7 separate regions of the Homo sapiens genome follow, and all the other regions are linked to region 1. Evidence: promoter capture Hi-C in human tissues and cell types (Jung and others, 2019). All regions are on one chromosome and are shown on one strand. Each heading gives the region's core, a stretch centred on a gene start or on the middle of the fragment in contact. The rest is flanking DNA. Distances are from core to core; before and after follow the strand shown.

Region 1 (2,757 bases), core at 149-2,648:
CATTTTTGTGTGTGAAGGTCATTTTCTAATGGCAAAAATGGAAAGAAAATAGAAGTAGAATGTTGTGGAATCTTAGATAAAGAATGGGCTCTTGGAGCCCAGTTTAGCAGGGTTTACTTCTCAGTTTTACTTTTCAATTGTGACCGTAAGCAAATTAACTTCTCTAGGCCTGGGATTCTGATCTGTAAAATTGCACTAATATGAGTCTCTTCACGGCTCCTCTAAGGATTAAATGAGAGACACATGCAAAGGATCCCCAAAAACAATAACTCAAAAAATGTTGATTCCCTCCCTTCCCTCTGTCATCTGTTAACCTCAACTTCCTAAATAGAAGGTCTATTCTTTTACCATCATCATTATTCTCTTCGGTGCCTATTTTTAAAAAATACTCAACCTTCTTGCTTCCTTCGCTACCTAAGTATTTCTGCAAGCCCACTTTGTTCTGCAGCTTAGCTTTCCTGGCACAATTCTTATAGATTTTGGTCCCTTTTAAAATTCATTCTTCAGCAAATGCTTTCTCTCTCCATCTTTTGACTAGAGATCATTAGAGATCACCTGAGATCATTAGAGAACAGTGGTTTCCTTGGTTGCCATTCCCTTTCTTCTTCATTGGGAGTATTCTGCGGTGAACTCAGACATTTTATTTTTCAAAGCTTCCCATTCTTTTAAAAATGCTTTTCCTTTTACAGCCTCTCGCTCAAAATCATACCCATCTTTTCCCTGGATCTGTTTTCTCAAGTCTCCAATCGCCTGCCTTCTTTGTGTCTTGTATTACCCTCACATCCCCCAGCTTTCTACTGCTCTCCCAGGACCAACCATTTCTTCCGCGGGAGTCACATTACATCAGCATTCCTAATGCAGTATCTGTTATCTACCAGATTCTGTTTTATTCTAGGTAGTCACTTAAAAACGAACCTCGGTACTGGTCTGACTTAACATGGAGGAGGAATTGTCTAAGGTTAAACGCAAACTGCTGAGAGATTTGGGGCGGGGGGCACACATTTACATTCATTCGTATTAAATATATACCTGTTGAATTTGTGCTTTTTCTCAAATGCTTCAGAGACTCGAGCTTTAGAGTAATTGGGATGGTGAAAGGATGGGTTTCCAGAAACTTCGCCCAAAATTAAAGACTCCATCAAAAGGACTGCTCCATACACTCAAGGAACACCCACCAACAAATCCCGTCTCCACAACCACCAGATTATCTCACCGGCGAGTGAGACTGCAAGGTTTGGGGGCCCGGCCGTACCACTCCGCGCTGCGCACGGGGGGTTCGTACCCATCTGGCCGCGACCGTCCGTTTCCCCCTCGCTTGGTTCTGCCCCTGCTCCCCCTGCACAGGCCTCACAGTGCGTCTGGCCGGCGCTTTATAGCTGCAGCCTGGGCGGCTCCGCTAGCTGTTTTTCGTCTTCCCTAGGCTATTTCTGCCGGGCGCTCCGCGAAGATGCAGCTCAAGCCGATGGAGATCAACCCCGAGGTGAGCGCCAGGTGCACCGCTACCCGGAGAGCGCGAGGCCGAGGGAGGGGGAGCCGAGTCGCTGATCGGTTCGGTTTTGCCTTTTTCTTTGCATTTGCCTTTCAGATGCTGAACAAAGTGAGTGGCGTCTCGCGCCGTCTCTGGCCCCCTCCCCCGCGAGCGCCGAGGCGGGGGCGCCCACCGGTTCCGGCTGCTGGCAGGGACCAAGCCGCCCGCTGCGAGCACCGGAGACGGCCGGGCTGGGGCGTGGGCTGGGCGCCTTTCCTGGGCCCCTGCATTTAGCGGGTGACTCTACGAAACCGGTCACGGGGAGACGGAGGGGGCTGCGCCCCGTGGCGAGCGAGCGCCAGGCGGAGCTCCCGAGGGCGTGGCGCGGGCAGCACAGACTCGGCTGCACGGGCTTCGCGGGCGCCACGTGTGGGCCGCGCTTTGTGCTGTGTCATTGCGCCGGCCCGGGTGGGGGTGGCAGGGCGGGACTGGGGCTCCTCCCAGGCTCGGGTGCGGGCGCGGAGGGCGCGCGCCTCCTGGCCCCGCCCCCTGGCAGGTGCCCGCGACCCGCGTGTCCCCGTGCGCCTGGCCGCCTTGTCTCCTCTCCGCAGGTGCTGTCCCGGCTGGGGGTCGCCGGCCAGTGGCGCTTCGTGGACGTGCTGGGGCTGGAAGAGGAGTCTCTGGGCTCGGTGCCAGCGCCTGCCTGCGCGCTGCTGCTGCTGTTTCCCCTCACGGCCCAGGTAGGGCGTGGGGCCCAGGATGCGCCGGCCGCCGGCAGTGCACGCCGCTCCCCAGCTTGAGTCCTCGGGGGCTCCCCGCCCCGCCCCCTCCCCTGTAGGTGATGCGGGGCGCGCCTACAAGGAAGGGAGGAGCCTGCATTTTCGTGGTACCTACTCCCTGGGCTCCTGTTCCAGCGGTGCCTGTCGCCTTCTTGCCCATCCGTCCACAATTGCCTTAAATTTGGAAGAGAGGCAGTATCTCAGTTCCATCTATCCCGTTATCCAGGGAAATCATTCATCCTACTCATGAGTTCCCTCGAACTTGGGCTTTTTCGAGCCTCCGGTTCCGGGGAATGGCTGCTGGTTTCCCTTTAAGGGCTATAACCTGTCAACTCATTGTTTGCTTCTCAGACTCCCACCTAGCTGTAGAATGGAGGGGGAAGGGCTGACCTAAATCGCAGGGAAACAATTAGGTTCGCTAATTCTCCGCCTCCATTACTTGGGTTTCTGATGGTCTTAAGGGGTTCTTCTCTCTTCTCCACTCCCACCACTTGCACACTTGGTTTTTAG
Region 2 (2,757 bases), core at 161-2,660, 410 kb before region 1:
AGCCCCGTTAACAGCGAGTCTGAGCACTGACAGCTCATCTAATTTCCCAACTCTGCAGCAATTAATAGGCTTTCCGTGCTTATTTTAGGTCAACTGTATCACCCAGAAGTGTGTATTTTGAGCCACATTATGATGAAGCCAAGAGATGCCAGCTGAATTTACAGAGGCAACATATCAACTGGGGGAGGTAATCAAGCTTAAAATATCACAGTCAAATACAGGAAACTGTTTGCAGTAAACACTGGCAGAGGACGTGTCTTCATTTTCCAGTTCCACCTGCTCCCAATAAAAAACATACAGAAACAACGGCATGGACATAGCCTTACCTGTTTTACCGACATTCCTGACACTCTATTAACAGAGCCACATCACTGGAATCCAGGCACTTTTCCTGAGATGCATCCTTACAGGGCAACAGGGAGGGAGGGAGGCAGCACAGGTCAAGGGCGGGTGGGAAGTGGGAGAGACAGGAGATGACAGCTCAATGGGGGAGAGATCAGAGACGTCCCAGGAAAGAGAGGAATGGAACGGAGAGAGGAACACAGTGCAAGTCTGGTTGGGGCCACACTCTTGGAGTTCCCTCCCTGAGCTACCCAGAGCTGTCCTGAGCTGCCTGGGACCCTAATGAAGTCACTTAATCCCCTGACCCATGGTGCTCACACCATTCCTTTCTGGCATTGTCACAGCCGATTTGCATGCACCGTACACAGAGCAACTAGACCGAAGAGCATGGAGCACTGGATAGATAACGAGGAGGAAAGGAAGAAACCCAATGTTTACAGAAACCCGTTCTCTCGGGCACTCTATGGCCAGGGTCATGGAGCGGCCAGCAGGGCCCTGCAGGGATGGAGCTAAAATCATGGCATGAAACGCCAAGTGCACCAGACAGTGAACCACAAAGTCATTAAGTGGAAAGGAAGAGCTGCTCACCCTGAGGCGGAACAATGACCATGGCACACTAGTAAGTGGAGCAAAAACAAAGCCAAGCTGTTTTTATAAAACAAGCATGGTCTTATAAAAACAACAAAATGTTTGCATGTGTATTTTAATATATACACAGTAAAAAACTTGGAATATAATACCCGAACTGTCAACTGTAATATGGAAAGAGGATTATGGAGGATTTTACTTTATCTCTTTGAAAATTATACAATAAGCACATTTGACTTTTGTGATAAAATATGCAAATATCTACCTCAGTACTGAAGGAAAGCCATTGTGATCAGCATGCCCCAGGGCAGTTAACAGGACTAATATTAATGATTACAGTAACACCAGCCACCAATTACCCTTTATTGAGCTCTGTTTGGCCCCTAACAGTAACTGGACAAGGTCAGTATTACTGTTCTGACAGATGAGGAAACAAGTTCAGAGAGGCTAAGACACTTGGCCAAGGTCACACAGCTACTACATGGGGAAGAGAGTTTGACAGTAGGCTGCAGGACTCGAATTCTAGTCTTAGATGCACCCATGATGGGTACTCCACCCTTCTACACAGTCCTGCAGAGCCCCCTAATGGTTTGTCTCCTAAATGGCAAACACAGTCCCTAGGCACAGGTATTCAAGGTAGGGCCAAAGGGTTTGGCCAAGAACCTAGGGTTTTAGAGGAACAGGGAACATTCCTCTCTTTTGGTGAACTTTTGTAGGGAAAGAGGTGGCTAAAAATTCCTAAGAGGATCTTTGGGCTGAAGAGGCAGACACAGCTGTGCTCAAATCCAGATGGGTAGCCACATTCCTTCAAGTACACTGCTTACCTTCTCTTTATTTACCCAACATAGATTTCCAGGGCCCCTCTGTGTGCCAGGCACACTGTGTTACATGGTATGCCCCACAAAACCTGTTTCCTCATCATTGAAGAGGGGATAAGGACACCTGCTCATGCTCATAATGCTCAGGGGCATTATAAGCATGAAGTTAAATGGGACGACACGTGTATGGGAGTGCTGGGCATGTAACAAAGCTGCAATAACCTGCAACGTTAACAGCTATTATCACTGTGTCATCCAATAGCTTCATCTCTTCGGCTGGGTTGTGCTGGGCAGCATTTGAGATGGACTGTCTCCCACGGAAGGACAGTCACCTGGGGGAGTGGCAGGGGCCCTCTGCTCAGGTTTGCTGGACCCCAGCTGATACAGGATGCTGGAGAGTCACCCCTTGGCTCAGGTCCCTCTGTGCTACTCGGTTCCACCTATCAAAGCCAGGCTTGGGTAGCAATTTACAAGATCAGCAAAGGACCCAGAGACCTGGATGCTGGTCCCAGTCTGAATCCACAGCTGGGTAACATTATGCAAGTCACACAACCTCCCTAATTCTTGGGTTCCTAATCTCAGAATGGATGTGCTAGGAACTTCTTAGTGCTCAGATTTTTATCAGAAAAGGATATGTTAGTGCTTTGACTTGCTTTTAATTACACCAAATGTTTTCAATTTCTTATTTTTAATAAAAAGCCTATCTGTAGTGTGTGACAAAAACTTTAAAAATCTAACAATCTGAGAATACAACCTGTTTCTTTTGTGTATAATTATTATTGTAGTCTTGGATATTTTAAATCAGATCCACTGCTAGTGATTCACTTAAAAACATACCATCAAGATGTAGCTACTGTGTTTTTCCCTGAAAGCAGACTTGGAAAAAATGCTACTGCAAACTTTTAACACAGTTAATTCATTTGGAGTTAATAAACACTGCTTGATTTAAGTATCAAAGTGAAAACCAGCCATAAATAAGACACCGCAGAGTGATATTTGAAATGTCATT
Region 3 (2,757 bases), core at 127-2,626, 390 kb before region 1:
GAAGGGGTGAGACCCTGTCTCCAAAGAAAAAAAATAAAAGAGGCCTAAAAATAAGGCAAATGTCTAAAGGGACCGCTCTATAAACAAAGTGGGCCAGAATTTTAGATTCTGAAGGCAGACAAGGAATATACGTGAAATGAAAAAAATTCTAAGAATAAAAGACTTTGATATTTCTTGGTTTAGATCTTTGTATTAATTTCTTTGCCAATTATATAATTGCTTACTTTTCTTAACAGGCTTATTACCTAGGAAGGCTTGTGGTATTTATTACTAAATACCTAGTATTTAGTAAATATTCTATATATTCCTGTAGAAATAGGAAAATATGAGGTCAAAGCAGGCCCCAGTCACCCCATTCTGCTTGTGGGTATCTCCTGAAATGAACAGAGTATGAATGAATATGGACTACATTTCACAACCTTCAAGTTTAAATGGAAGAGAGAAAAAACATTCAAGTGTCTAAAAACTTAGGTACCAAATCACGTTATACATCATTTTGGGGGAAGACATCATTCTCTGGCAATAAACCGCTCACCCATGAAATGAAATAATCCTTCTAGGAAAGAATGATTCATTATTTAATAAACATTTGTCTGTTTTTGACTTCACTAAGAAAAATAAATGGGAGGAAATGCTCCAGGAATCTCAACAAGCAGCCTCCTCTGCCTCCAGCCCACTGTGCCCACCACTGCCAGTGCAGATGAGGGAGGGCAGAGTGAGGGGCAGCGCAGAGGGAGGGACAACATTCTCTTCTGAGTGCTCACCAGGGGACAGGGACCCGTGCCAAGCCCTCTCCCATTTAATATCTTACAACCAAGCTGCATCGGGGTTCCAAAGCTTCCATCTCTACACAAGAGGGCCCTGGGGCACAGTGTGTAACTGGCTCAGGGTCAGCCAGCTAACAGAGGCAGATCAGGAAGCCAACCGGTGTGCCTCACTCCAAAAGCCCTTTCATTTAAGAAGTCATATAATCTGTACCACCTAGAGGAGAGACAGCTGGGTGAGGAAGATGGAGGAGCAAAGCTGGGTAGCAGAAGGGGCTTCCACTGCCCTAACTGTAGAAGGCTGAAAAATATCCCAAAGAAATCAGGTCCTAATCCCTGGAACCTGCAAATGTTACCTTATAGGTATTATATACATATATGTGTGTGTGTGTGTATACACACTCTTTTTTTTTTTTTTTTTGGAGACCAAGTCTCACTCTCACCCATGCTGGAGTGCAGTGGCACGATCCCGGCTCACTGCAAACTCCGCCTCCCAGGTTCAAGCGATTCTCCTGCCTCAGCCTCCCGAGTAGCTGGGATAACAGGTGCATGACACCACACCCAGCTAATTTTGTATATTTAGCAGAGATGAACTCCCCACCTCTGGGGATCTACCCGCCTTGGCCTCCCAAAGTGCCGGGATTACAGGGGTGAGCCACCACCGCGCCCAGCCATACATATATATATATGTGTAAGTGTCTCTCAGAAGGACACTTATGACTGGATTTAGGTCCCACTCAGGTAATCCAGGATAATATCCTCAGGTCAAAATCCTTAACTTAATCACATCTGTGAAGACCCTACTACCCCGCACCCGTTTATTTTTTTTGAGACAGAGTCTCACTCTGTTGCCCAGGCTAGAGGGCAATGTTGCAGTCTTGGCTCACTGCAACCTCCACCTCCTGGGTTCAAGTGGCGATCCTCCCGCCTCAGACTCCTGAGTAGCTGGGACTACAGGCAAGAGCCATCATCCCCAGTTAGTTTTTGTATTCTTAGTAGAGACGGGGTTTTGCCACGTTGGCCAGGCTGGTCTCGAACTCCTGGCCTCAAGTGATCCGCCCGCCTTGGCCTCCCAAAGTGCTGGGATTACAGGCATGAGCCACCGCACCCGGCCTCAACTCCTTTTCTGAAGTTTCCTCTTCCTTCCCTCATGTGGGCCTCTGCACAAGGTAATTGGAGTGTCCATATTAACAGCTAAAAGGAGTAGGAACACTGACCCATTAATTTAGAATTCATGGTTTCAGACACGGTTCAGCCACATTTTTGTATAAAACTGATTAAGTCGTGTAAAAGTTCTAGGTCTCAGTTTCCTCATCTGTAAAAGGGACATAATGCTACACCCTGTAGTCCTGAAAGGACTAATGGAGATAGACCCTCAGTAAACCATAAAGCATTGTGTCAAAACATGCACAGAGTTCTGATTATTCTCCCCTCATTCTCCCCTTCAGATAATCAAAAGTACTTTTAAGCATCTAATATAAGGATAACATCATGTTGAAGCACACACAAGGAAATCTAAGATATGGTGATGGCTGTCAAGGAATTCACAGTCTAACCAGGGAGACACACATCTGTGACATTAGTGACAACCCGAGGTTGAAGAGATCTAGTACAATGAATATATGCATGACTACAGAGCTGAAAGACAGCACAGGGCATGGTGTGCTGTGAAGATTCACTCCCATTTGTAGGGGTGGCGTATATTTCCCCAACCCTTGAAGTGAGGCGCAGTTACGCATCTTGCTTTGCCAATGAAATGTGAGCAAAAGCGCTAAGCATCATTTCCAGCAGAAATGTTCAGTCAGCGCATCTTTTCCTTCTGCCACCATTGTTGCCAATATTGTAGTCTAGATTGTGACTTTATCATCAGCTTTAGACAGAGAATGAGGACAATGACAAAGGAAGCCGTGTCTTCAGCCAACCCACCATGGACTTTTAGCAGAAAGAATTGTTATAAGCCACTGAGATTTTTGGTTGTTATTACAGTCTAACC
Region 4 (2,757 bases), core at 143-2,642, 350 kb after region 1:
GTAAATCAGCTCTTTCCTTCCTGCCTTCCTGTTAGTGGTACATTATTGACTCCTTAGTTTAAACGTCATTCTTGAGGGAAAAATCTGCTCTTGTGCGTTTTGTTCCACAGGTATTAGTTACCATTTACTGGCTGGGAAAAGCAGCAAACAGCTGCACATCCTACAGCGGAACGACACTAAACCTGAAGGAGTTTGAAGGATTGTTGGCTCAGATGCGAAAGGTAACTTGGCTTTTCTTCTTTATCCCATAAGCGTTAGACAAGGTGGGAAAGCTACACATTTGCTTGTTTTTAAGATTACTAGAGTACTGGGTTGTGGAATGGTATGAGCCAAAGATATGCACTCAAGGAAACGATCACTTGTCTTACCAATGACATCTTTGCCTCATGCATGTCACACCTACCTGCACTTTCATACCCTTCAGAGAACAGGAGTTCTGAGCTCCATCCAACTTTTTAATTCCAAAAAAGCAAATTCAATCTATCAGTATATGCCTTTGTATGCCAAGATGCTCAGTGCTTGTTTTCTTGGGGGAATAATGCTTGAATTAAACAATGCAGTATTATGCAAAAATGAAGACTCGCTCTGCACTTTTGTGCTAAAGGGCATTTTGCTTACCCACTGGGGCCTTGATGTGGGTGAGGTAACGTGAACCAAGCTCTTACCTTGGCATACGCTCTGGACAAGGCGGGATACATTAAATGCATTCTCCTCTAACATGTGCATGTTATAGCCACTGTTTTTGAATGACATAGGAATTTGGAAAACATTTCATACATTGTTAAAAGCTTCATTTGTTTCTTTGAGTATAGAAAAGACTGACCTAAGGTAGGGATTTGTCAAGGAAACAGTTGAATGTTTCATGTGTACTACTTGCCTGAATGTTTCATCTGAAGGTCCAGCAATATACAACTCATACAAATGGCTAGTACATAGTGTTACCCAGGAGAGGCCCTCCCAACCCGCCTTAGTGTACAGGTAAGGCTTATTTATAATGGACCTCCATGTACTTTTTTAATTATTTTATTTTTTTGAGATGGATTCTTGCTGTGTCGCCCAGGCTGGAGTGCAGTGGCGCAATCTCAGCTGACTGCAACGTCCGCCTCCCAGATTCAAGTGATTCTCCTGCCTCAGTCTCCCGAGTAGCTGGGATTATAGGCAGCCACCACTAAGCCTGGCTAATTTTTGTATTTTTAGTGGAGACAGGGTTTCACCGTGTTGGCCAGGCTGGTCTTGAACTCCTGACCTCAGGTGATCCACCCACCTTGGCCTCCCAAAGTGCTGAGATTGCAAGTGTGAGCCACCGCACCCGGCCCCTCCAGGCATTTTGGATAAAGTCCACATTAGAGGACAAATAATTGAGGCCTTACTCTTCCTCATTTCTCTAGTATGCAAAATAAATGAACTAGAAACATTCAGTTCCTTGCAATTTTTCTTTTAATACTGAAAGCAAGAATTGGTTCCAATTTTCTAAACATTTATTTTCCTTTCCTTAAATTAAAGCTAATGGTCCTGATAGTTCTTCACATTTGGCTAAGGCCAGTCTGGCTCATGTATTTATAAATGGCCAAAGCTTTCATATTGGTCATAACGCACATACACAAGGTACTTTAAGCTGAATTCCTTTAAAAATTAAATAAACACAGACACACAATGAAGCACAACTCATTGCTTCTCAGTCTCACCTCTTATTTGCCCTTTAATTTCTCATCTAACATCCAGTCTGGATTTGAGATGTCTAAATGTTTATTGTTTTTATATTAAATTTGGACTTGAATAATAATAGATGGGTCATGAAGCTTTGTCTCACAGTTCCCCTGCTAGATTCTGTTGGAATCTGATTTATTCTCATGATTGACATTTCTTACTACTAGTCCAGCTCCTGTAGAATCTGAGCAGCTATTGGTTTCTTCAACTCTCCTAGCTTCTCTTTCTACAGTTAGTTTCTTCAACTGCTGTAAAATGACCTGTTGTTAACAGCTGTTACCCTTTTTGTTGAATGTAGGTAACATCACAGGACATGGTGGAGTAAGTAGTATCCCTGGATACATGACTCTTAGCAAAAATGGCCAGCCATGATACTGCCATATCTCCATCTAGAGAGAAAATGACTTGAACTTCACTGGACTATCTGAGCACCTGGAAATACTAGTTTTATATGTGATATATATAATCTCATTTTGTCAGTTAGGATCGGGTTCAGCTGGGAAACACAAAAGCCTCAAAATAACAGATAAAATAAGACAACAATTTTATTTCTAATTCACATAAATGAGACGTGGACATGAGCAGTCCAGGGCTGATGTGGGGTTCCATGTCTTTTCACCAACAGAAGGCCCAAGCTTCTTTGTCTTTTTGTACCAACAACCTCAACCCATGGCTGTTCACCTGCTGATCCAAGATGGCTGTTCAGGCTTTAGCCATCATGTCCACATTCAGCCAAGAAAAGGGAGGAATGGCGGGGAGAAGATTCCATGCTCTCCCTTTAAACACACCTCTGGGAAATTACACACTACACACATAGCTACATCTTACAGACTTGAACTTGGTCATGCATCCATATCTAGCTGCAAGCAAAGACTTGGGGAAAGTAGACTTTATTTCAGCTAAAAACTGTAGGCATTTTTGTTAGGAGAGCAGATATTGAGGGACAACTGTAATCTCTTCTGCACATATGCAGGCTGAAATAAATTTGAAATTAGTTTTTTTTCTTTCACAAAGGAGATTATCCACAAATTTTTATATTCATTTTTCTAG
Region 5 (2,757 bases), core at 170-2,669, 310 kb after region 1:
GTCCACGATCACAAAATTAGTAAGACAGAGCCAGAGTTCAAACCAAAGTCTGTCTCATTCATCCCTGAACTCTTAACCACTAAAGTAGGCATCCCTAGTGGTGAAGACACTAAGGTAGGAGTCAGGCCATATGGGTGGTCATGTCACATTGAGCCCCTCCACATCATCTATGAGGACTGGAATCAACTTATTCCAGACTCTTGTTAATGTTGATATTTTGAGCCTCCCCCAAGAATCACAAATGGTCTTAATGGCATCTAGCATGATGAATCCTTTCCAGAAGGTCTTCAATTTGCTTTGCCCAGATCCATCAGAGGAATCACTATCTATGGCAGCTATAGCCTTACAAATATATTTCTTAGATAATAGGACTTGAAAATTGAAATTACTCCTTGATCCATGGGCTGCAGAGCTTTGAGTGAGGTTTTGAATGTGGGAAAGGCTTTGAATGTGGGGAAGAGATAGGCCTGGGGGAGACATGATGAAATATCAGAATACTGAAGGACAGTTGGGTGAAAGAGAGCCTCAGCATGATGTAGGCAGTTTCCTGGAAGTATACTTAGAACCAATGAGGAGAAGTCACTAGGAGCATCAACATGTTGATACAATGTAAGAATGAGTTTTCTATGATAACTATGTGAAGTGATATGCTAATCATTCTACACAAAATCATTATACAAAAATTGTATAAATTTAAAATGTAGAATGTGATGTTTTGATAAACATCTCATCATACACTTTATACAATTTTTATTTGTTAATTATACCCCATTAAAGCTGGGAATAAACTTAAAAAAAGAAGAGTTTTCTATCACATACAGAGTTATCCGAAGATGGGCTGAAATGCATCAGAAATTGACCACTTCCTTGTTACTGAAGTCTTTCAAGCCTAGACTGGGCAGCTTCATCATGAGGACTGAATCATTGTCAATCCTATAATTCTTTGATCCCAATCAGCAGTGCTCTTATAAGTGCCCATCAGAATACTTGCAAAACCTACCTGCTCAAACTCCTCTATTCTTAAAGCTGTTCTTCCTTTCACCAAGTTCTGAGAACTAGCAAGGGCTCTGCCCAGTGGTGTGTCATAGCACAGTACAAAACTGATGGGTCTGCATAAGAAGGCAGAATAAAGGATGCTGAGGTTAAGGGGGGGACCTGCTTGGATTTGAACCCTGTCTCGTCACTTGCTGTGCATACATGCTGAAGTTACTCTACCTCTCTGTGCCTTGGTTTCCTCATATATTATGCTGTACATGGGATAATATTAAAATGAAAGTGTTTTTAAGATTAATGAGATAATACATTTAAAGCCCTCAGAACAATGCCTGGCATGTTTGAGATATTCAGTAAGTGTTTTTGTTGGCTTTATAAGCACGTCAGCAAAACTTTTTTTAACTTTTGACTTGCTCTCAGCCAAATAAGTAAAGTATTTATGCAAAAATAATCATGACAAGGTCAATAGTAGCAGCAATAGTAGTAATATATGACTGAGGCAGAATTAAATTCCAGAGCCCATACTTTTAACTACCTACTTAGGGTTAGGTACTGAGTTAGGTGCTATACTTGAATTATCTCCTTTATTCCCTAGGAAAACCTGGTAGGTAAGTGTTACTGCATTTTATAGATGAGGAACCTGGGGCTTAGACAGATTATGTAGTTTGCCCAGTATTACCAATAAGTGCACAGAAAGGCATGATTAGAATCCAGGTCTTTTTGTGTTTATCTTTGGAAGTATTGCTACACTTGTTTGGTAGTAATAAATAGCTCTTTTTTTAGAAATCTTGTGCTTAAGTGGCATCAGAAAAGATGATAAGTTCATTTCACCTCCCAGGTAATGTCCTTAAAATTGGCAGCTATAGGCCGGGCGTGGTGGCTCATGCCTGTAATCCCAGCACTCTGGGATGCCAAGACAGGCGGACCACGAGGTCAGGAGTTCGAGACCAGCTTGGCCCACATAGTGAAACCCCGGCTCTACTAAAAATACAAAAATTAGCCAGGCATGGTGAAACCCACCTGTAATCCCAGCTATTTAGGAGCCTGAGGCAGGAGAATCTCTTGAACCCAGGAGACAGATGTTGTAGTGAGCCGAGATTGCACCACTGCACTTCAGCCTAGGCGACAGAGCGAGACTCCTTCTCAAAAAAGAAAAAAGCAGCTATGACGGTTACTTAAATGGGCAGTAAAATGGCATTTGAGGAATAAATGGTCAATAGGATCCAGTATTTACAACCATAATTGATAGTGAAATTACAGACTCATCACTAAGAAAGCTTTCCTATCACTTTACAATAAATTGTGTAATCTGAAAATAATTTTAAAACAAAAAGTTATCAAGGTCCAGCTTCAGGAGAGCCAACGTGACAGCTGACCTGATGCACCGGAGTTACAACACAAGAACTGTTGCATTCCCTTGCAATGGTGTGTCATGGGTTTGATCCACATGCACACAGAGTATATGTATTGAAAACAGTGGTGACATAATGTTCTACTTATTTTTGGATCTAGATTTCTTCAAAAACTAATGCGAGAAAAATACTCTAAAATGGATGATTTCTTCTGGCTATCCTTCAGAAAGACTGAATGAGAAAAATATGATGCTGCTAAAATAGGCCAAAATGTTGATGAAATGTCTGTGGATATTGGAGGATATACTCAAATGTAAATTGTCTCCTTTGTCATAAAATAAGGCGAGGCTATAGGTCGAGGTATTGGCAGTTACTATGAATAGTAAATAACCATTGAAAGATTGCTTGACTT
Region 6 (2,757 bases), core at 126-2,625, 290 kb after region 1:
AATTGTAACATTGTCCTCACATTATTTTTAAAGCATTATCTGTTTCGATGCTGGCAAAACTGATTATCTTATATAATGGCCAAAGGAACTGTTCACTTTCAAGAAATAAGCAACTAGCCTGTCTTTGTTTTCATCAGCATGTTTTTTGGTGACTAATATGTTGATTTGATGAAAGCTAATTGCACAAACATGCGGTTTGTGGGGAAGAAGGTAACGCATGGAACTATGTCTAAGAGATGTGGGTGTTCATTCCATTGGTGGATCCAGCACTTTCTTCCTCAATAAAGAGTATTTGTTCCTAAAATAACTGGTGTCCTTCAAGGCACAGAATGTCTAACTCAGCTGAAGGTATTTAATTTATATTATAAATGTACATATATATTTTATGAATTTTAATAGAAATATATTAATTTACATTTATAAGTTTAAACATAAAAACATAAAATACATGAAATATGTTTGAGTGTATTGTTAGGGACATCTCTGAGCTCCTGTGGAGATAGTGTTTTTTCCCTAACATAACTTACATTTAAGAAAATTGGATTTTTCATGAAATTTACTCAAGTAAGACTGTAGGCTGAGTTTAATATATATGACAACTAAACTTTCGGCCCATATTGCACCAAATTAAAGCTTTCTTCTTTGTCTTTGAGCACAAGAATGAAAGCTGGCATACTGTCCGGTAGACTGAAATGTGTCCTCATGGTCATTTTGACCACCTTATGAGCATGATTAATTGACAACATGTTGTTACTATCTTAATTCTTTGGTCTGAGTCTCAGCTCCCGTGTCAGACCTCTGAGTCCCAAACATAGCGCCACAGTCTGGGTCTTCACATCTTGGCCAGGTTTCTGTTAAAAAAACAAAGGCGCCTCTGTGTTATACTTTTATGGAGCACATGTGGTGTGTATTTATTTTGTGATAGGTTTTTATCACTTGGTAGAAAGATGTTACTGTATCTTAAGTGAACGATTGTTTCACCCTGTTGCTCCACAGACCCTAGTTGTTTCTTTAAAATGGGCGATGGATTTTTAGGGGCGTATTCACAAACCTGCCATGAAAGTCTTTCTTCTCCAGATGTTTACTTCTATATTTTTATGTGAAATTCAACTTTTTCACCTATGGACATGCTTCCCTGCAGCAAATAACATGACAAACTCTTTGCCTTTATATTGTCTTTATATTTCAGATACCCCCCCACCCCCACCAAGCCTTCTCAATTCCAAACCTGTGATTATGCTGGATGCTTTACGTGTTATGCTCCGGCTTGTAATGGGCCAACTGAAAGATAAACTGCTATTAAATAAATCTATGACTCTTTTGAGAACAAATAGAGCTGTTGAAAGAGTTTAAAAACATAGTGACTCCTCGAAAGACTGTGAACATTCTTGAACCCTTTGAATCAAAGTGAATTTTCTTCACTCTCTGTGTGTGGGTATACACTGAAACTTATAAGAAAGAACCTCAGTAGCAAGATATTTGAAGGCTTTTGTGTTCTTAACCCTGCAAGGTTTTTCTTGGCAAGACTTGAAGAAAATGTAGCTGTCGTCTATTTTCTGCTCCTGTCGAGGGGAGCAGTTGAGTCTGGGAGGCCTCTAATGTGTCAGAGAGAAGCCTGCAGAGTAGAGAAGAGCCCAGAAGCCTCCAGGTGCCCAGTGGTTCCCTAATTATTCCATTACCTAGTTACCTGGTTTTCTATTACCTAGTTACCTAGTTATTCCATTCCATTCCACCTCCTCTCCAAGCAAGGCTGGGTGGTTCTTCTATTTTGATCTCTTCTCATGTGTCTCTGTTGCTGTGGAGCTGCAACATCAAAGCCTACCCCAGACCACACGTGTCTTCTGTTGCCACCACGTTTCCCTCTGGACACTGGATCAGCCTTACTGCCATTAGGATGCTTATGCTTCCTAGAAAGCCTCATTTATCTGTGCTGGGGCAGCTGCTGAGGACTACACAAGATTCACTGTCATGGGTTTAGCTTTCAGGGACTCCCCAACTTGCCTAAGTTACCTCTTGGGTCCTTGATTGAAACTCCAGTTGCCAAGTAATGAAGATACAGAATTTTGCATTGATCTCTCTTCCCTTTTCCATCTTTCCTGTTTCCATTCTGAAAGGAACTGCTCTGAACTGGCAAATGCCTACAGGGACTTCAGTGTCATAGGACAGGCTACTTTGACTCCTTTGTATAACCTCAAAGTCACTGCCAATACAAGGGTAAAACAGATTCTGTTCTTTGTACTCAAATTCAGTGTGATGTGAGTTGGAATGCTAAGAAAAACTTAAGAGATATTTTTAGCAAAAATGAAATATTTTGATGCCTATCGCTCACCTGAAAATTTTCCCAGATTTGCCATTTCTAGATTTTTAGCAGCTTCACAAAGGGGTATTGTGTTTGAGTCGGAAGAGAAAAATGTTTTTATTTCCTGTCCTTGACGTTTAGTGGAATTGATAAAAAGCATCAAGGATCTTTGAGTTCTGGATCTCCTGCAAAAAAACACATTATGTAAGAAAGGACTTGAGTGTTTTTTTCCTGTTCGTCAGTACGAGGGGAGAGTTACTGTGGAAAGTGAAGGGCAGTGATCATCAGGAATGGAAAACAAAGAGCTTTGCTAGAAAATCACAGCAAGGGTGATCAAGCAGTTACCCTATTATCTGGCTCTAAACTTAATGTTGACCTCGACAACGACTTTTACATCCTCCCCCCAAACAGGCTCCTTTACTCATTCCTGAAAGGACACTGTTGCAACTTGAGTTATA
Region 7 (2,757 bases), core at 81-2,580, 270 kb after region 1:
GCAGCCAGCTTGGCTCTCCGTGGGCAAAACAGCACTTGTGCACTCTGAGTACCGCCTCTTGGTAGCAGCATGTTGGAATTGCAGTGAAAATTACCGAGAACAGCCAATTAATCTTGCATGCAAAAATGGAATATCCTGTCTGTCACAATCACTGTAGGGACATTTCTCAACATATGAATATATGGTGGTATCAAAGTCAAAGATAGTCTAAATTCAAGACTATTAAACCATTTGAAAAATTTTTGTTACTGATCTGTAGAAATCTGGCAAGCACAGGTTCTTTATAATTTGTTATAACCTTGGATTGCATGAATTTTAACAGAGGTCAGCAAACTTTTTCCATAAAGCATCAAATAGTAAAGATTTTATGCTTTGTGGCCCCTCAGGTCTCCATTGTAACTACTCAACTCTGCAGTTGTAGCACAAAAGTAGCCATAGACAATATGTAAATGAATGAGGATGGTTATATTCCTGTTCCAGTAAGACTTTATTTATAAGTACAGGTGTTGGACCAGATTTGGCTCATGGATTGTAGTTTGTTGACCTCTCAATTATGATACACTCCTACCCTAAGTTTCTCTTTGCACAGTATTCTAAGTTACCTAATTGCCTGATTCCCGAACGTGGAAATAACATTCTACATTCTACAGCCCCTTACCTTCAATCACTTATTTATGAATAACCTACTTTGCAAATACTACACTTTACCCAATTACCCCGATGCTAACCATATTTTAATTTTATAAGTTGCTTTCCTTGTTTCTCTTCACTCTGGGTTTTTATGTCCTGAAAACAGGCAATGATAGTTGTTTCTCTTGCATTCCCTTGCTTGTGTAACCATTGTTATATAATTTCAATCTTTAGCTGAAAATCTTTTGCTCAAATATCTTTTGTACCTAGGGACTCTTGGTTAGCCTTGTTTAAAATCTTCAGAATATGATTGGCTAACCTCTTATTAAACACATTCTTCCCTTTTTAAAGTGAAACTCAACCACATTGAAAAAGCCACTCTTCTCAAAGAGCAAGTAGGGTCTGACTTAGAATGTGTCTTGGCGAATCATTTGTAAAGATAGAAACTGGTCTTTGAATTTAGTGCATCCCTGGAGAGATCCATGTCTTAGCCAGGAAAATTGGCAACAAGCCTTACCTGAGTTGTAATACCTGGTTCCAGTTCCAGATAATTCCCTCACAACCTCAATCCAGCTCTCCCCCTTGTCCTTTTCCTTGAAGCCCTCCTCAGTCTCTACCTTTTCTCATCTCTCAACATTTCTAAATTCTAAAACTTCACCTGCCGTGGACCAACTTGATGTTGGCAAAGCTCTTCACTTATATGCATGAAGGCTGATAGATTATTGAGATTTACTATATGCTTTAAATTCACTGCTTTTCCTATCCAGCAATTTAGCTGTAGCCCCGGATAAAGGTGATTTGTGTGATCCATCTTGCTTTATGTCTCACTTGACATTCTGCCTTTTTCATGACAGGTTGCTGAATGCTATAAAGCCAGGACTTGTTAAAAAGATCAATAGATTGCCTACCCCCATTGCAGGACTGGTGAGTACGTGGAATTGAGATTTATTTTCCAATATTCCTTTGCTCTAACCTAGGGGTCATGACAGCACCATTTATTACAGTTCTCTCCTGCAATATATATTCCACTTGAATGAGAACGCATTGAATCCATTAAACGAAGAGGTCACTTAAAATGAAAGATTGCAGTCATGCCTAAATGGCATGTTAATCTTTGTTTGTGTTTTTTCCATGAGTGATAAGGACCTTCATTCTCAAAGAGCTAAATTTGTTTTGGTGTGAGAGGCTGATAATTAGGTTGACCCTTGGGGGAGGAATGTGATTTTAATTACGTTTTCTCATTTCAGTTCATCACTGCATTCCCCTAGAATGGAGGGTAGGGGAGGTAGAGAGAAAGAGAATTTTAAGAGAAAACAGTCGTTTTATAATAAATTGCTGCTTTCAATATTATAATCTACTTGGGTTGAAATACCACAATTGTAGGCCAACTATCCTGAAGACATACTGGGGCACTAAGGTGGTCTAACGTCATCTGGAGAACTGTTTAAGCAGAATCCTTGCCCTTCTGAACCTATCCACATAAAATCTAAAACTTACATGTTCATATGTGGTTAGAAGCAGAATATTTTTTTCATGCGTTGATATGTCTTATAATTCTTGGCAACTAATTTTTTAATTGCTTCATCGATGTTGCCTTTGTGTAGAAAAAGGAAAGAAGTAGAAGATGAGGAAGACAATCAAATCTTAGTTTTGGAAGGAATTGGCATATGTGTGTGTGCGTGCACACGCGCGCGCACACACACACACAGAGCAGAGGAAGTATGTAGCTCGGTAATGACTCACTGATTGTTTCCATTGTGATCGCCTTCTGCGCATGTAGTTTTGCAGAAAGCAATGAGAAGAATGTCAAGAATTTAAGCAGGATCCTACGTAGACCTTACTGATTGTTGTTAAAAAGCTTCTTAGCCATATCACGATGACTAATTGAAATTAGATGTGACAAAAAACCAATTGTGTTTGAGAATTGTGGGGGGTCCTTGTGGGAAGGTACATGGTTTCAGCAAGTTGAATGAAATAGATGTTTTCTTTAAGAACTGCTATTTCTGTGGATGCATTTTATTCCCCATATTGGTTGGTAGTGAGCTGGTGATTAGTCGTTAAAAATCTTTCTAATTTTGTTCTTCAGAATCATGTAACCAAATAAGTTAGTTAATATCGAGATAGATA

What was found. The method cuts DNA at HindIII sites, captures the fragments that hold promoters and counts their contacts. A contact is called where the count stands out against the background at its distance.
Region 2: a fragment that was not itself captured here is called in contact with the fragment with the promoter of UCHL1 in region 1 in 3 of the 25 tissues and cell types used here (IMR-90 fibroblasts, aorta and hippocampus).
Region 3: a fragment that was not itself captured here is called in contact with the fragment with the promoter of UCHL1 in region 1 in 2 of the 25 tissues and cell types used here (dorsolateral prefrontal cortex and mesenchymal stem cells).
Region 4: a fragment that was not itself captured here is called in contact with the fragment with the promoter of UCHL1 in region 1 in 4 of the 25 tissues and cell types used here (H1 embryonic stem cells, dorsolateral prefrontal cortex, hippocampus and 1 more).
Region 5: a fragment that was not itself captured here is called in contact with the fragment with the promoter of UCHL1 in region 1 in 1 of the 25 tissues and cell types used here (hippocampus).
Region 6: a fragment that was not itself captured here is called in contact with the fragment with the promoter of UCHL1 in region 1 in 3 of the 25 tissues and cell types used here (aorta, dorsolateral prefrontal cortex and mesendoderm cells).
Region 7: a contact is called between a fragment that was not itself captured here and the fragment with the promoter of UCHL1 in region 1, in 2 of the 25 tissues and cell types used here (mesenchymal stem cells and mesendoderm cells).

The regions. Positions count from the first base shown.
Region 1 is chr4:41,255,530-41,258,286 of GRCh38, forward strand. It overlaps UCHL1 (ubiquitin C-terminal hydrolase L1), which reads left to right and starts at 1,399. Exons shown (of 9, transcript NM_004181.5): 1 at 1,399-1,480; 2 at 1,586-1,597; 3 at 2,080-2,208. The coding sequence starts at 1,448. It overlaps UCHL1-DT (UCHL1 divergent transcript), which reads right to left and starts at 1,198. Exons shown (of 3, transcript NR_102709.1): 1 at 1,030-1,198. RefSeq lists a silencer at 1,515-2,274 and an enhancer at 2,109-2,609. The HindIII fragment of the contact is 4,741 bases long and covers 1-2,757 here.
Region 2 is chr4:40,842,451-40,845,207 of GRCh38, forward strand. All of the region lies in intron 12 of APBB2 (amyloid beta precursor protein binding family B member 2), which reads right to left. Among named protein-coding and RNA genes, the nearest start is that of NSUN7, 94 kb to the left of the region's middle. The HindIII fragment of the contact is 6,536 bases long and covers 1-2,757 here.
Region 3 is chr4:40,869,567-40,872,323 of GRCh38, forward strand. The region is part of intron 12 of APBB2 (amyloid beta precursor protein binding family B member 2); the gene reads right to left. Among named protein-coding and RNA genes, the nearest start is that of NSUN7, 120 kb to the left of the region's middle. The HindIII fragment of the contact is 6,921 bases long and covers 1-2,757 here.
Region 4 is chr4:41,605,784-41,608,540 of GRCh38, forward strand. LIMCH1 (LIM and calponin homology domains 1) reads left to right here. Exons shown (of 32, transcript NM_001330672.2): 4 at 111-221. The coding sequence starts at 213. Among named protein-coding and RNA genes, the nearest start is that of LIMCH1, 69 kb to the left of the region's middle. The HindIII fragment of the contact is 3,635 bases long and covers 1-2,757 here.
Region 5 is chr4:41,566,015-41,568,771 of GRCh38, forward strand. All of the region lies in intron 1 of LIMCH1 (LIM and calponin homology domains 1), which reads left to right. LOC105374423 (a long non-coding RNA gene) reads right to left here. Exons shown (of 4, transcript XR_001741667.2): 1 at 1-2,757. Among named protein-coding and RNA genes, the nearest start is that of LIMCH1, 29 kb to the left of the region's middle. The HindIII fragment of the contact is 6,043 bases long and covers 1-2,757 here.
Region 6 is chr4:41,542,886-41,545,642 of GRCh38, forward strand. All of the region lies in intron 1 of LIMCH1 (LIM and calponin homology domains 1), which reads left to right. LOC105374423 (a long non-coding RNA gene) reads right to left here. Exons shown (of 4, transcript XR_001741667.2): 3 at 2,330-2,484; 4 at 569-851. Among named protein-coding and RNA genes, the nearest start is that of LIMCH1, 6.1 kb to the left of the region's middle. The HindIII fragment of the contact is 5,731 bases long and covers 1-2,757 here.
Region 7 is chr4:41,522,925-41,525,681 of GRCh38, forward strand. It overlaps a transcript of LIMCH1 not described here. Among named protein-coding and RNA genes, the nearest start is that of LIMCH1, 14 kb to the right of the region's middle. RefSeq lists an enhancer at 2,119-2,718. The HindIII fragment of the contact is 6,965 bases long and covers 1-2,757 here.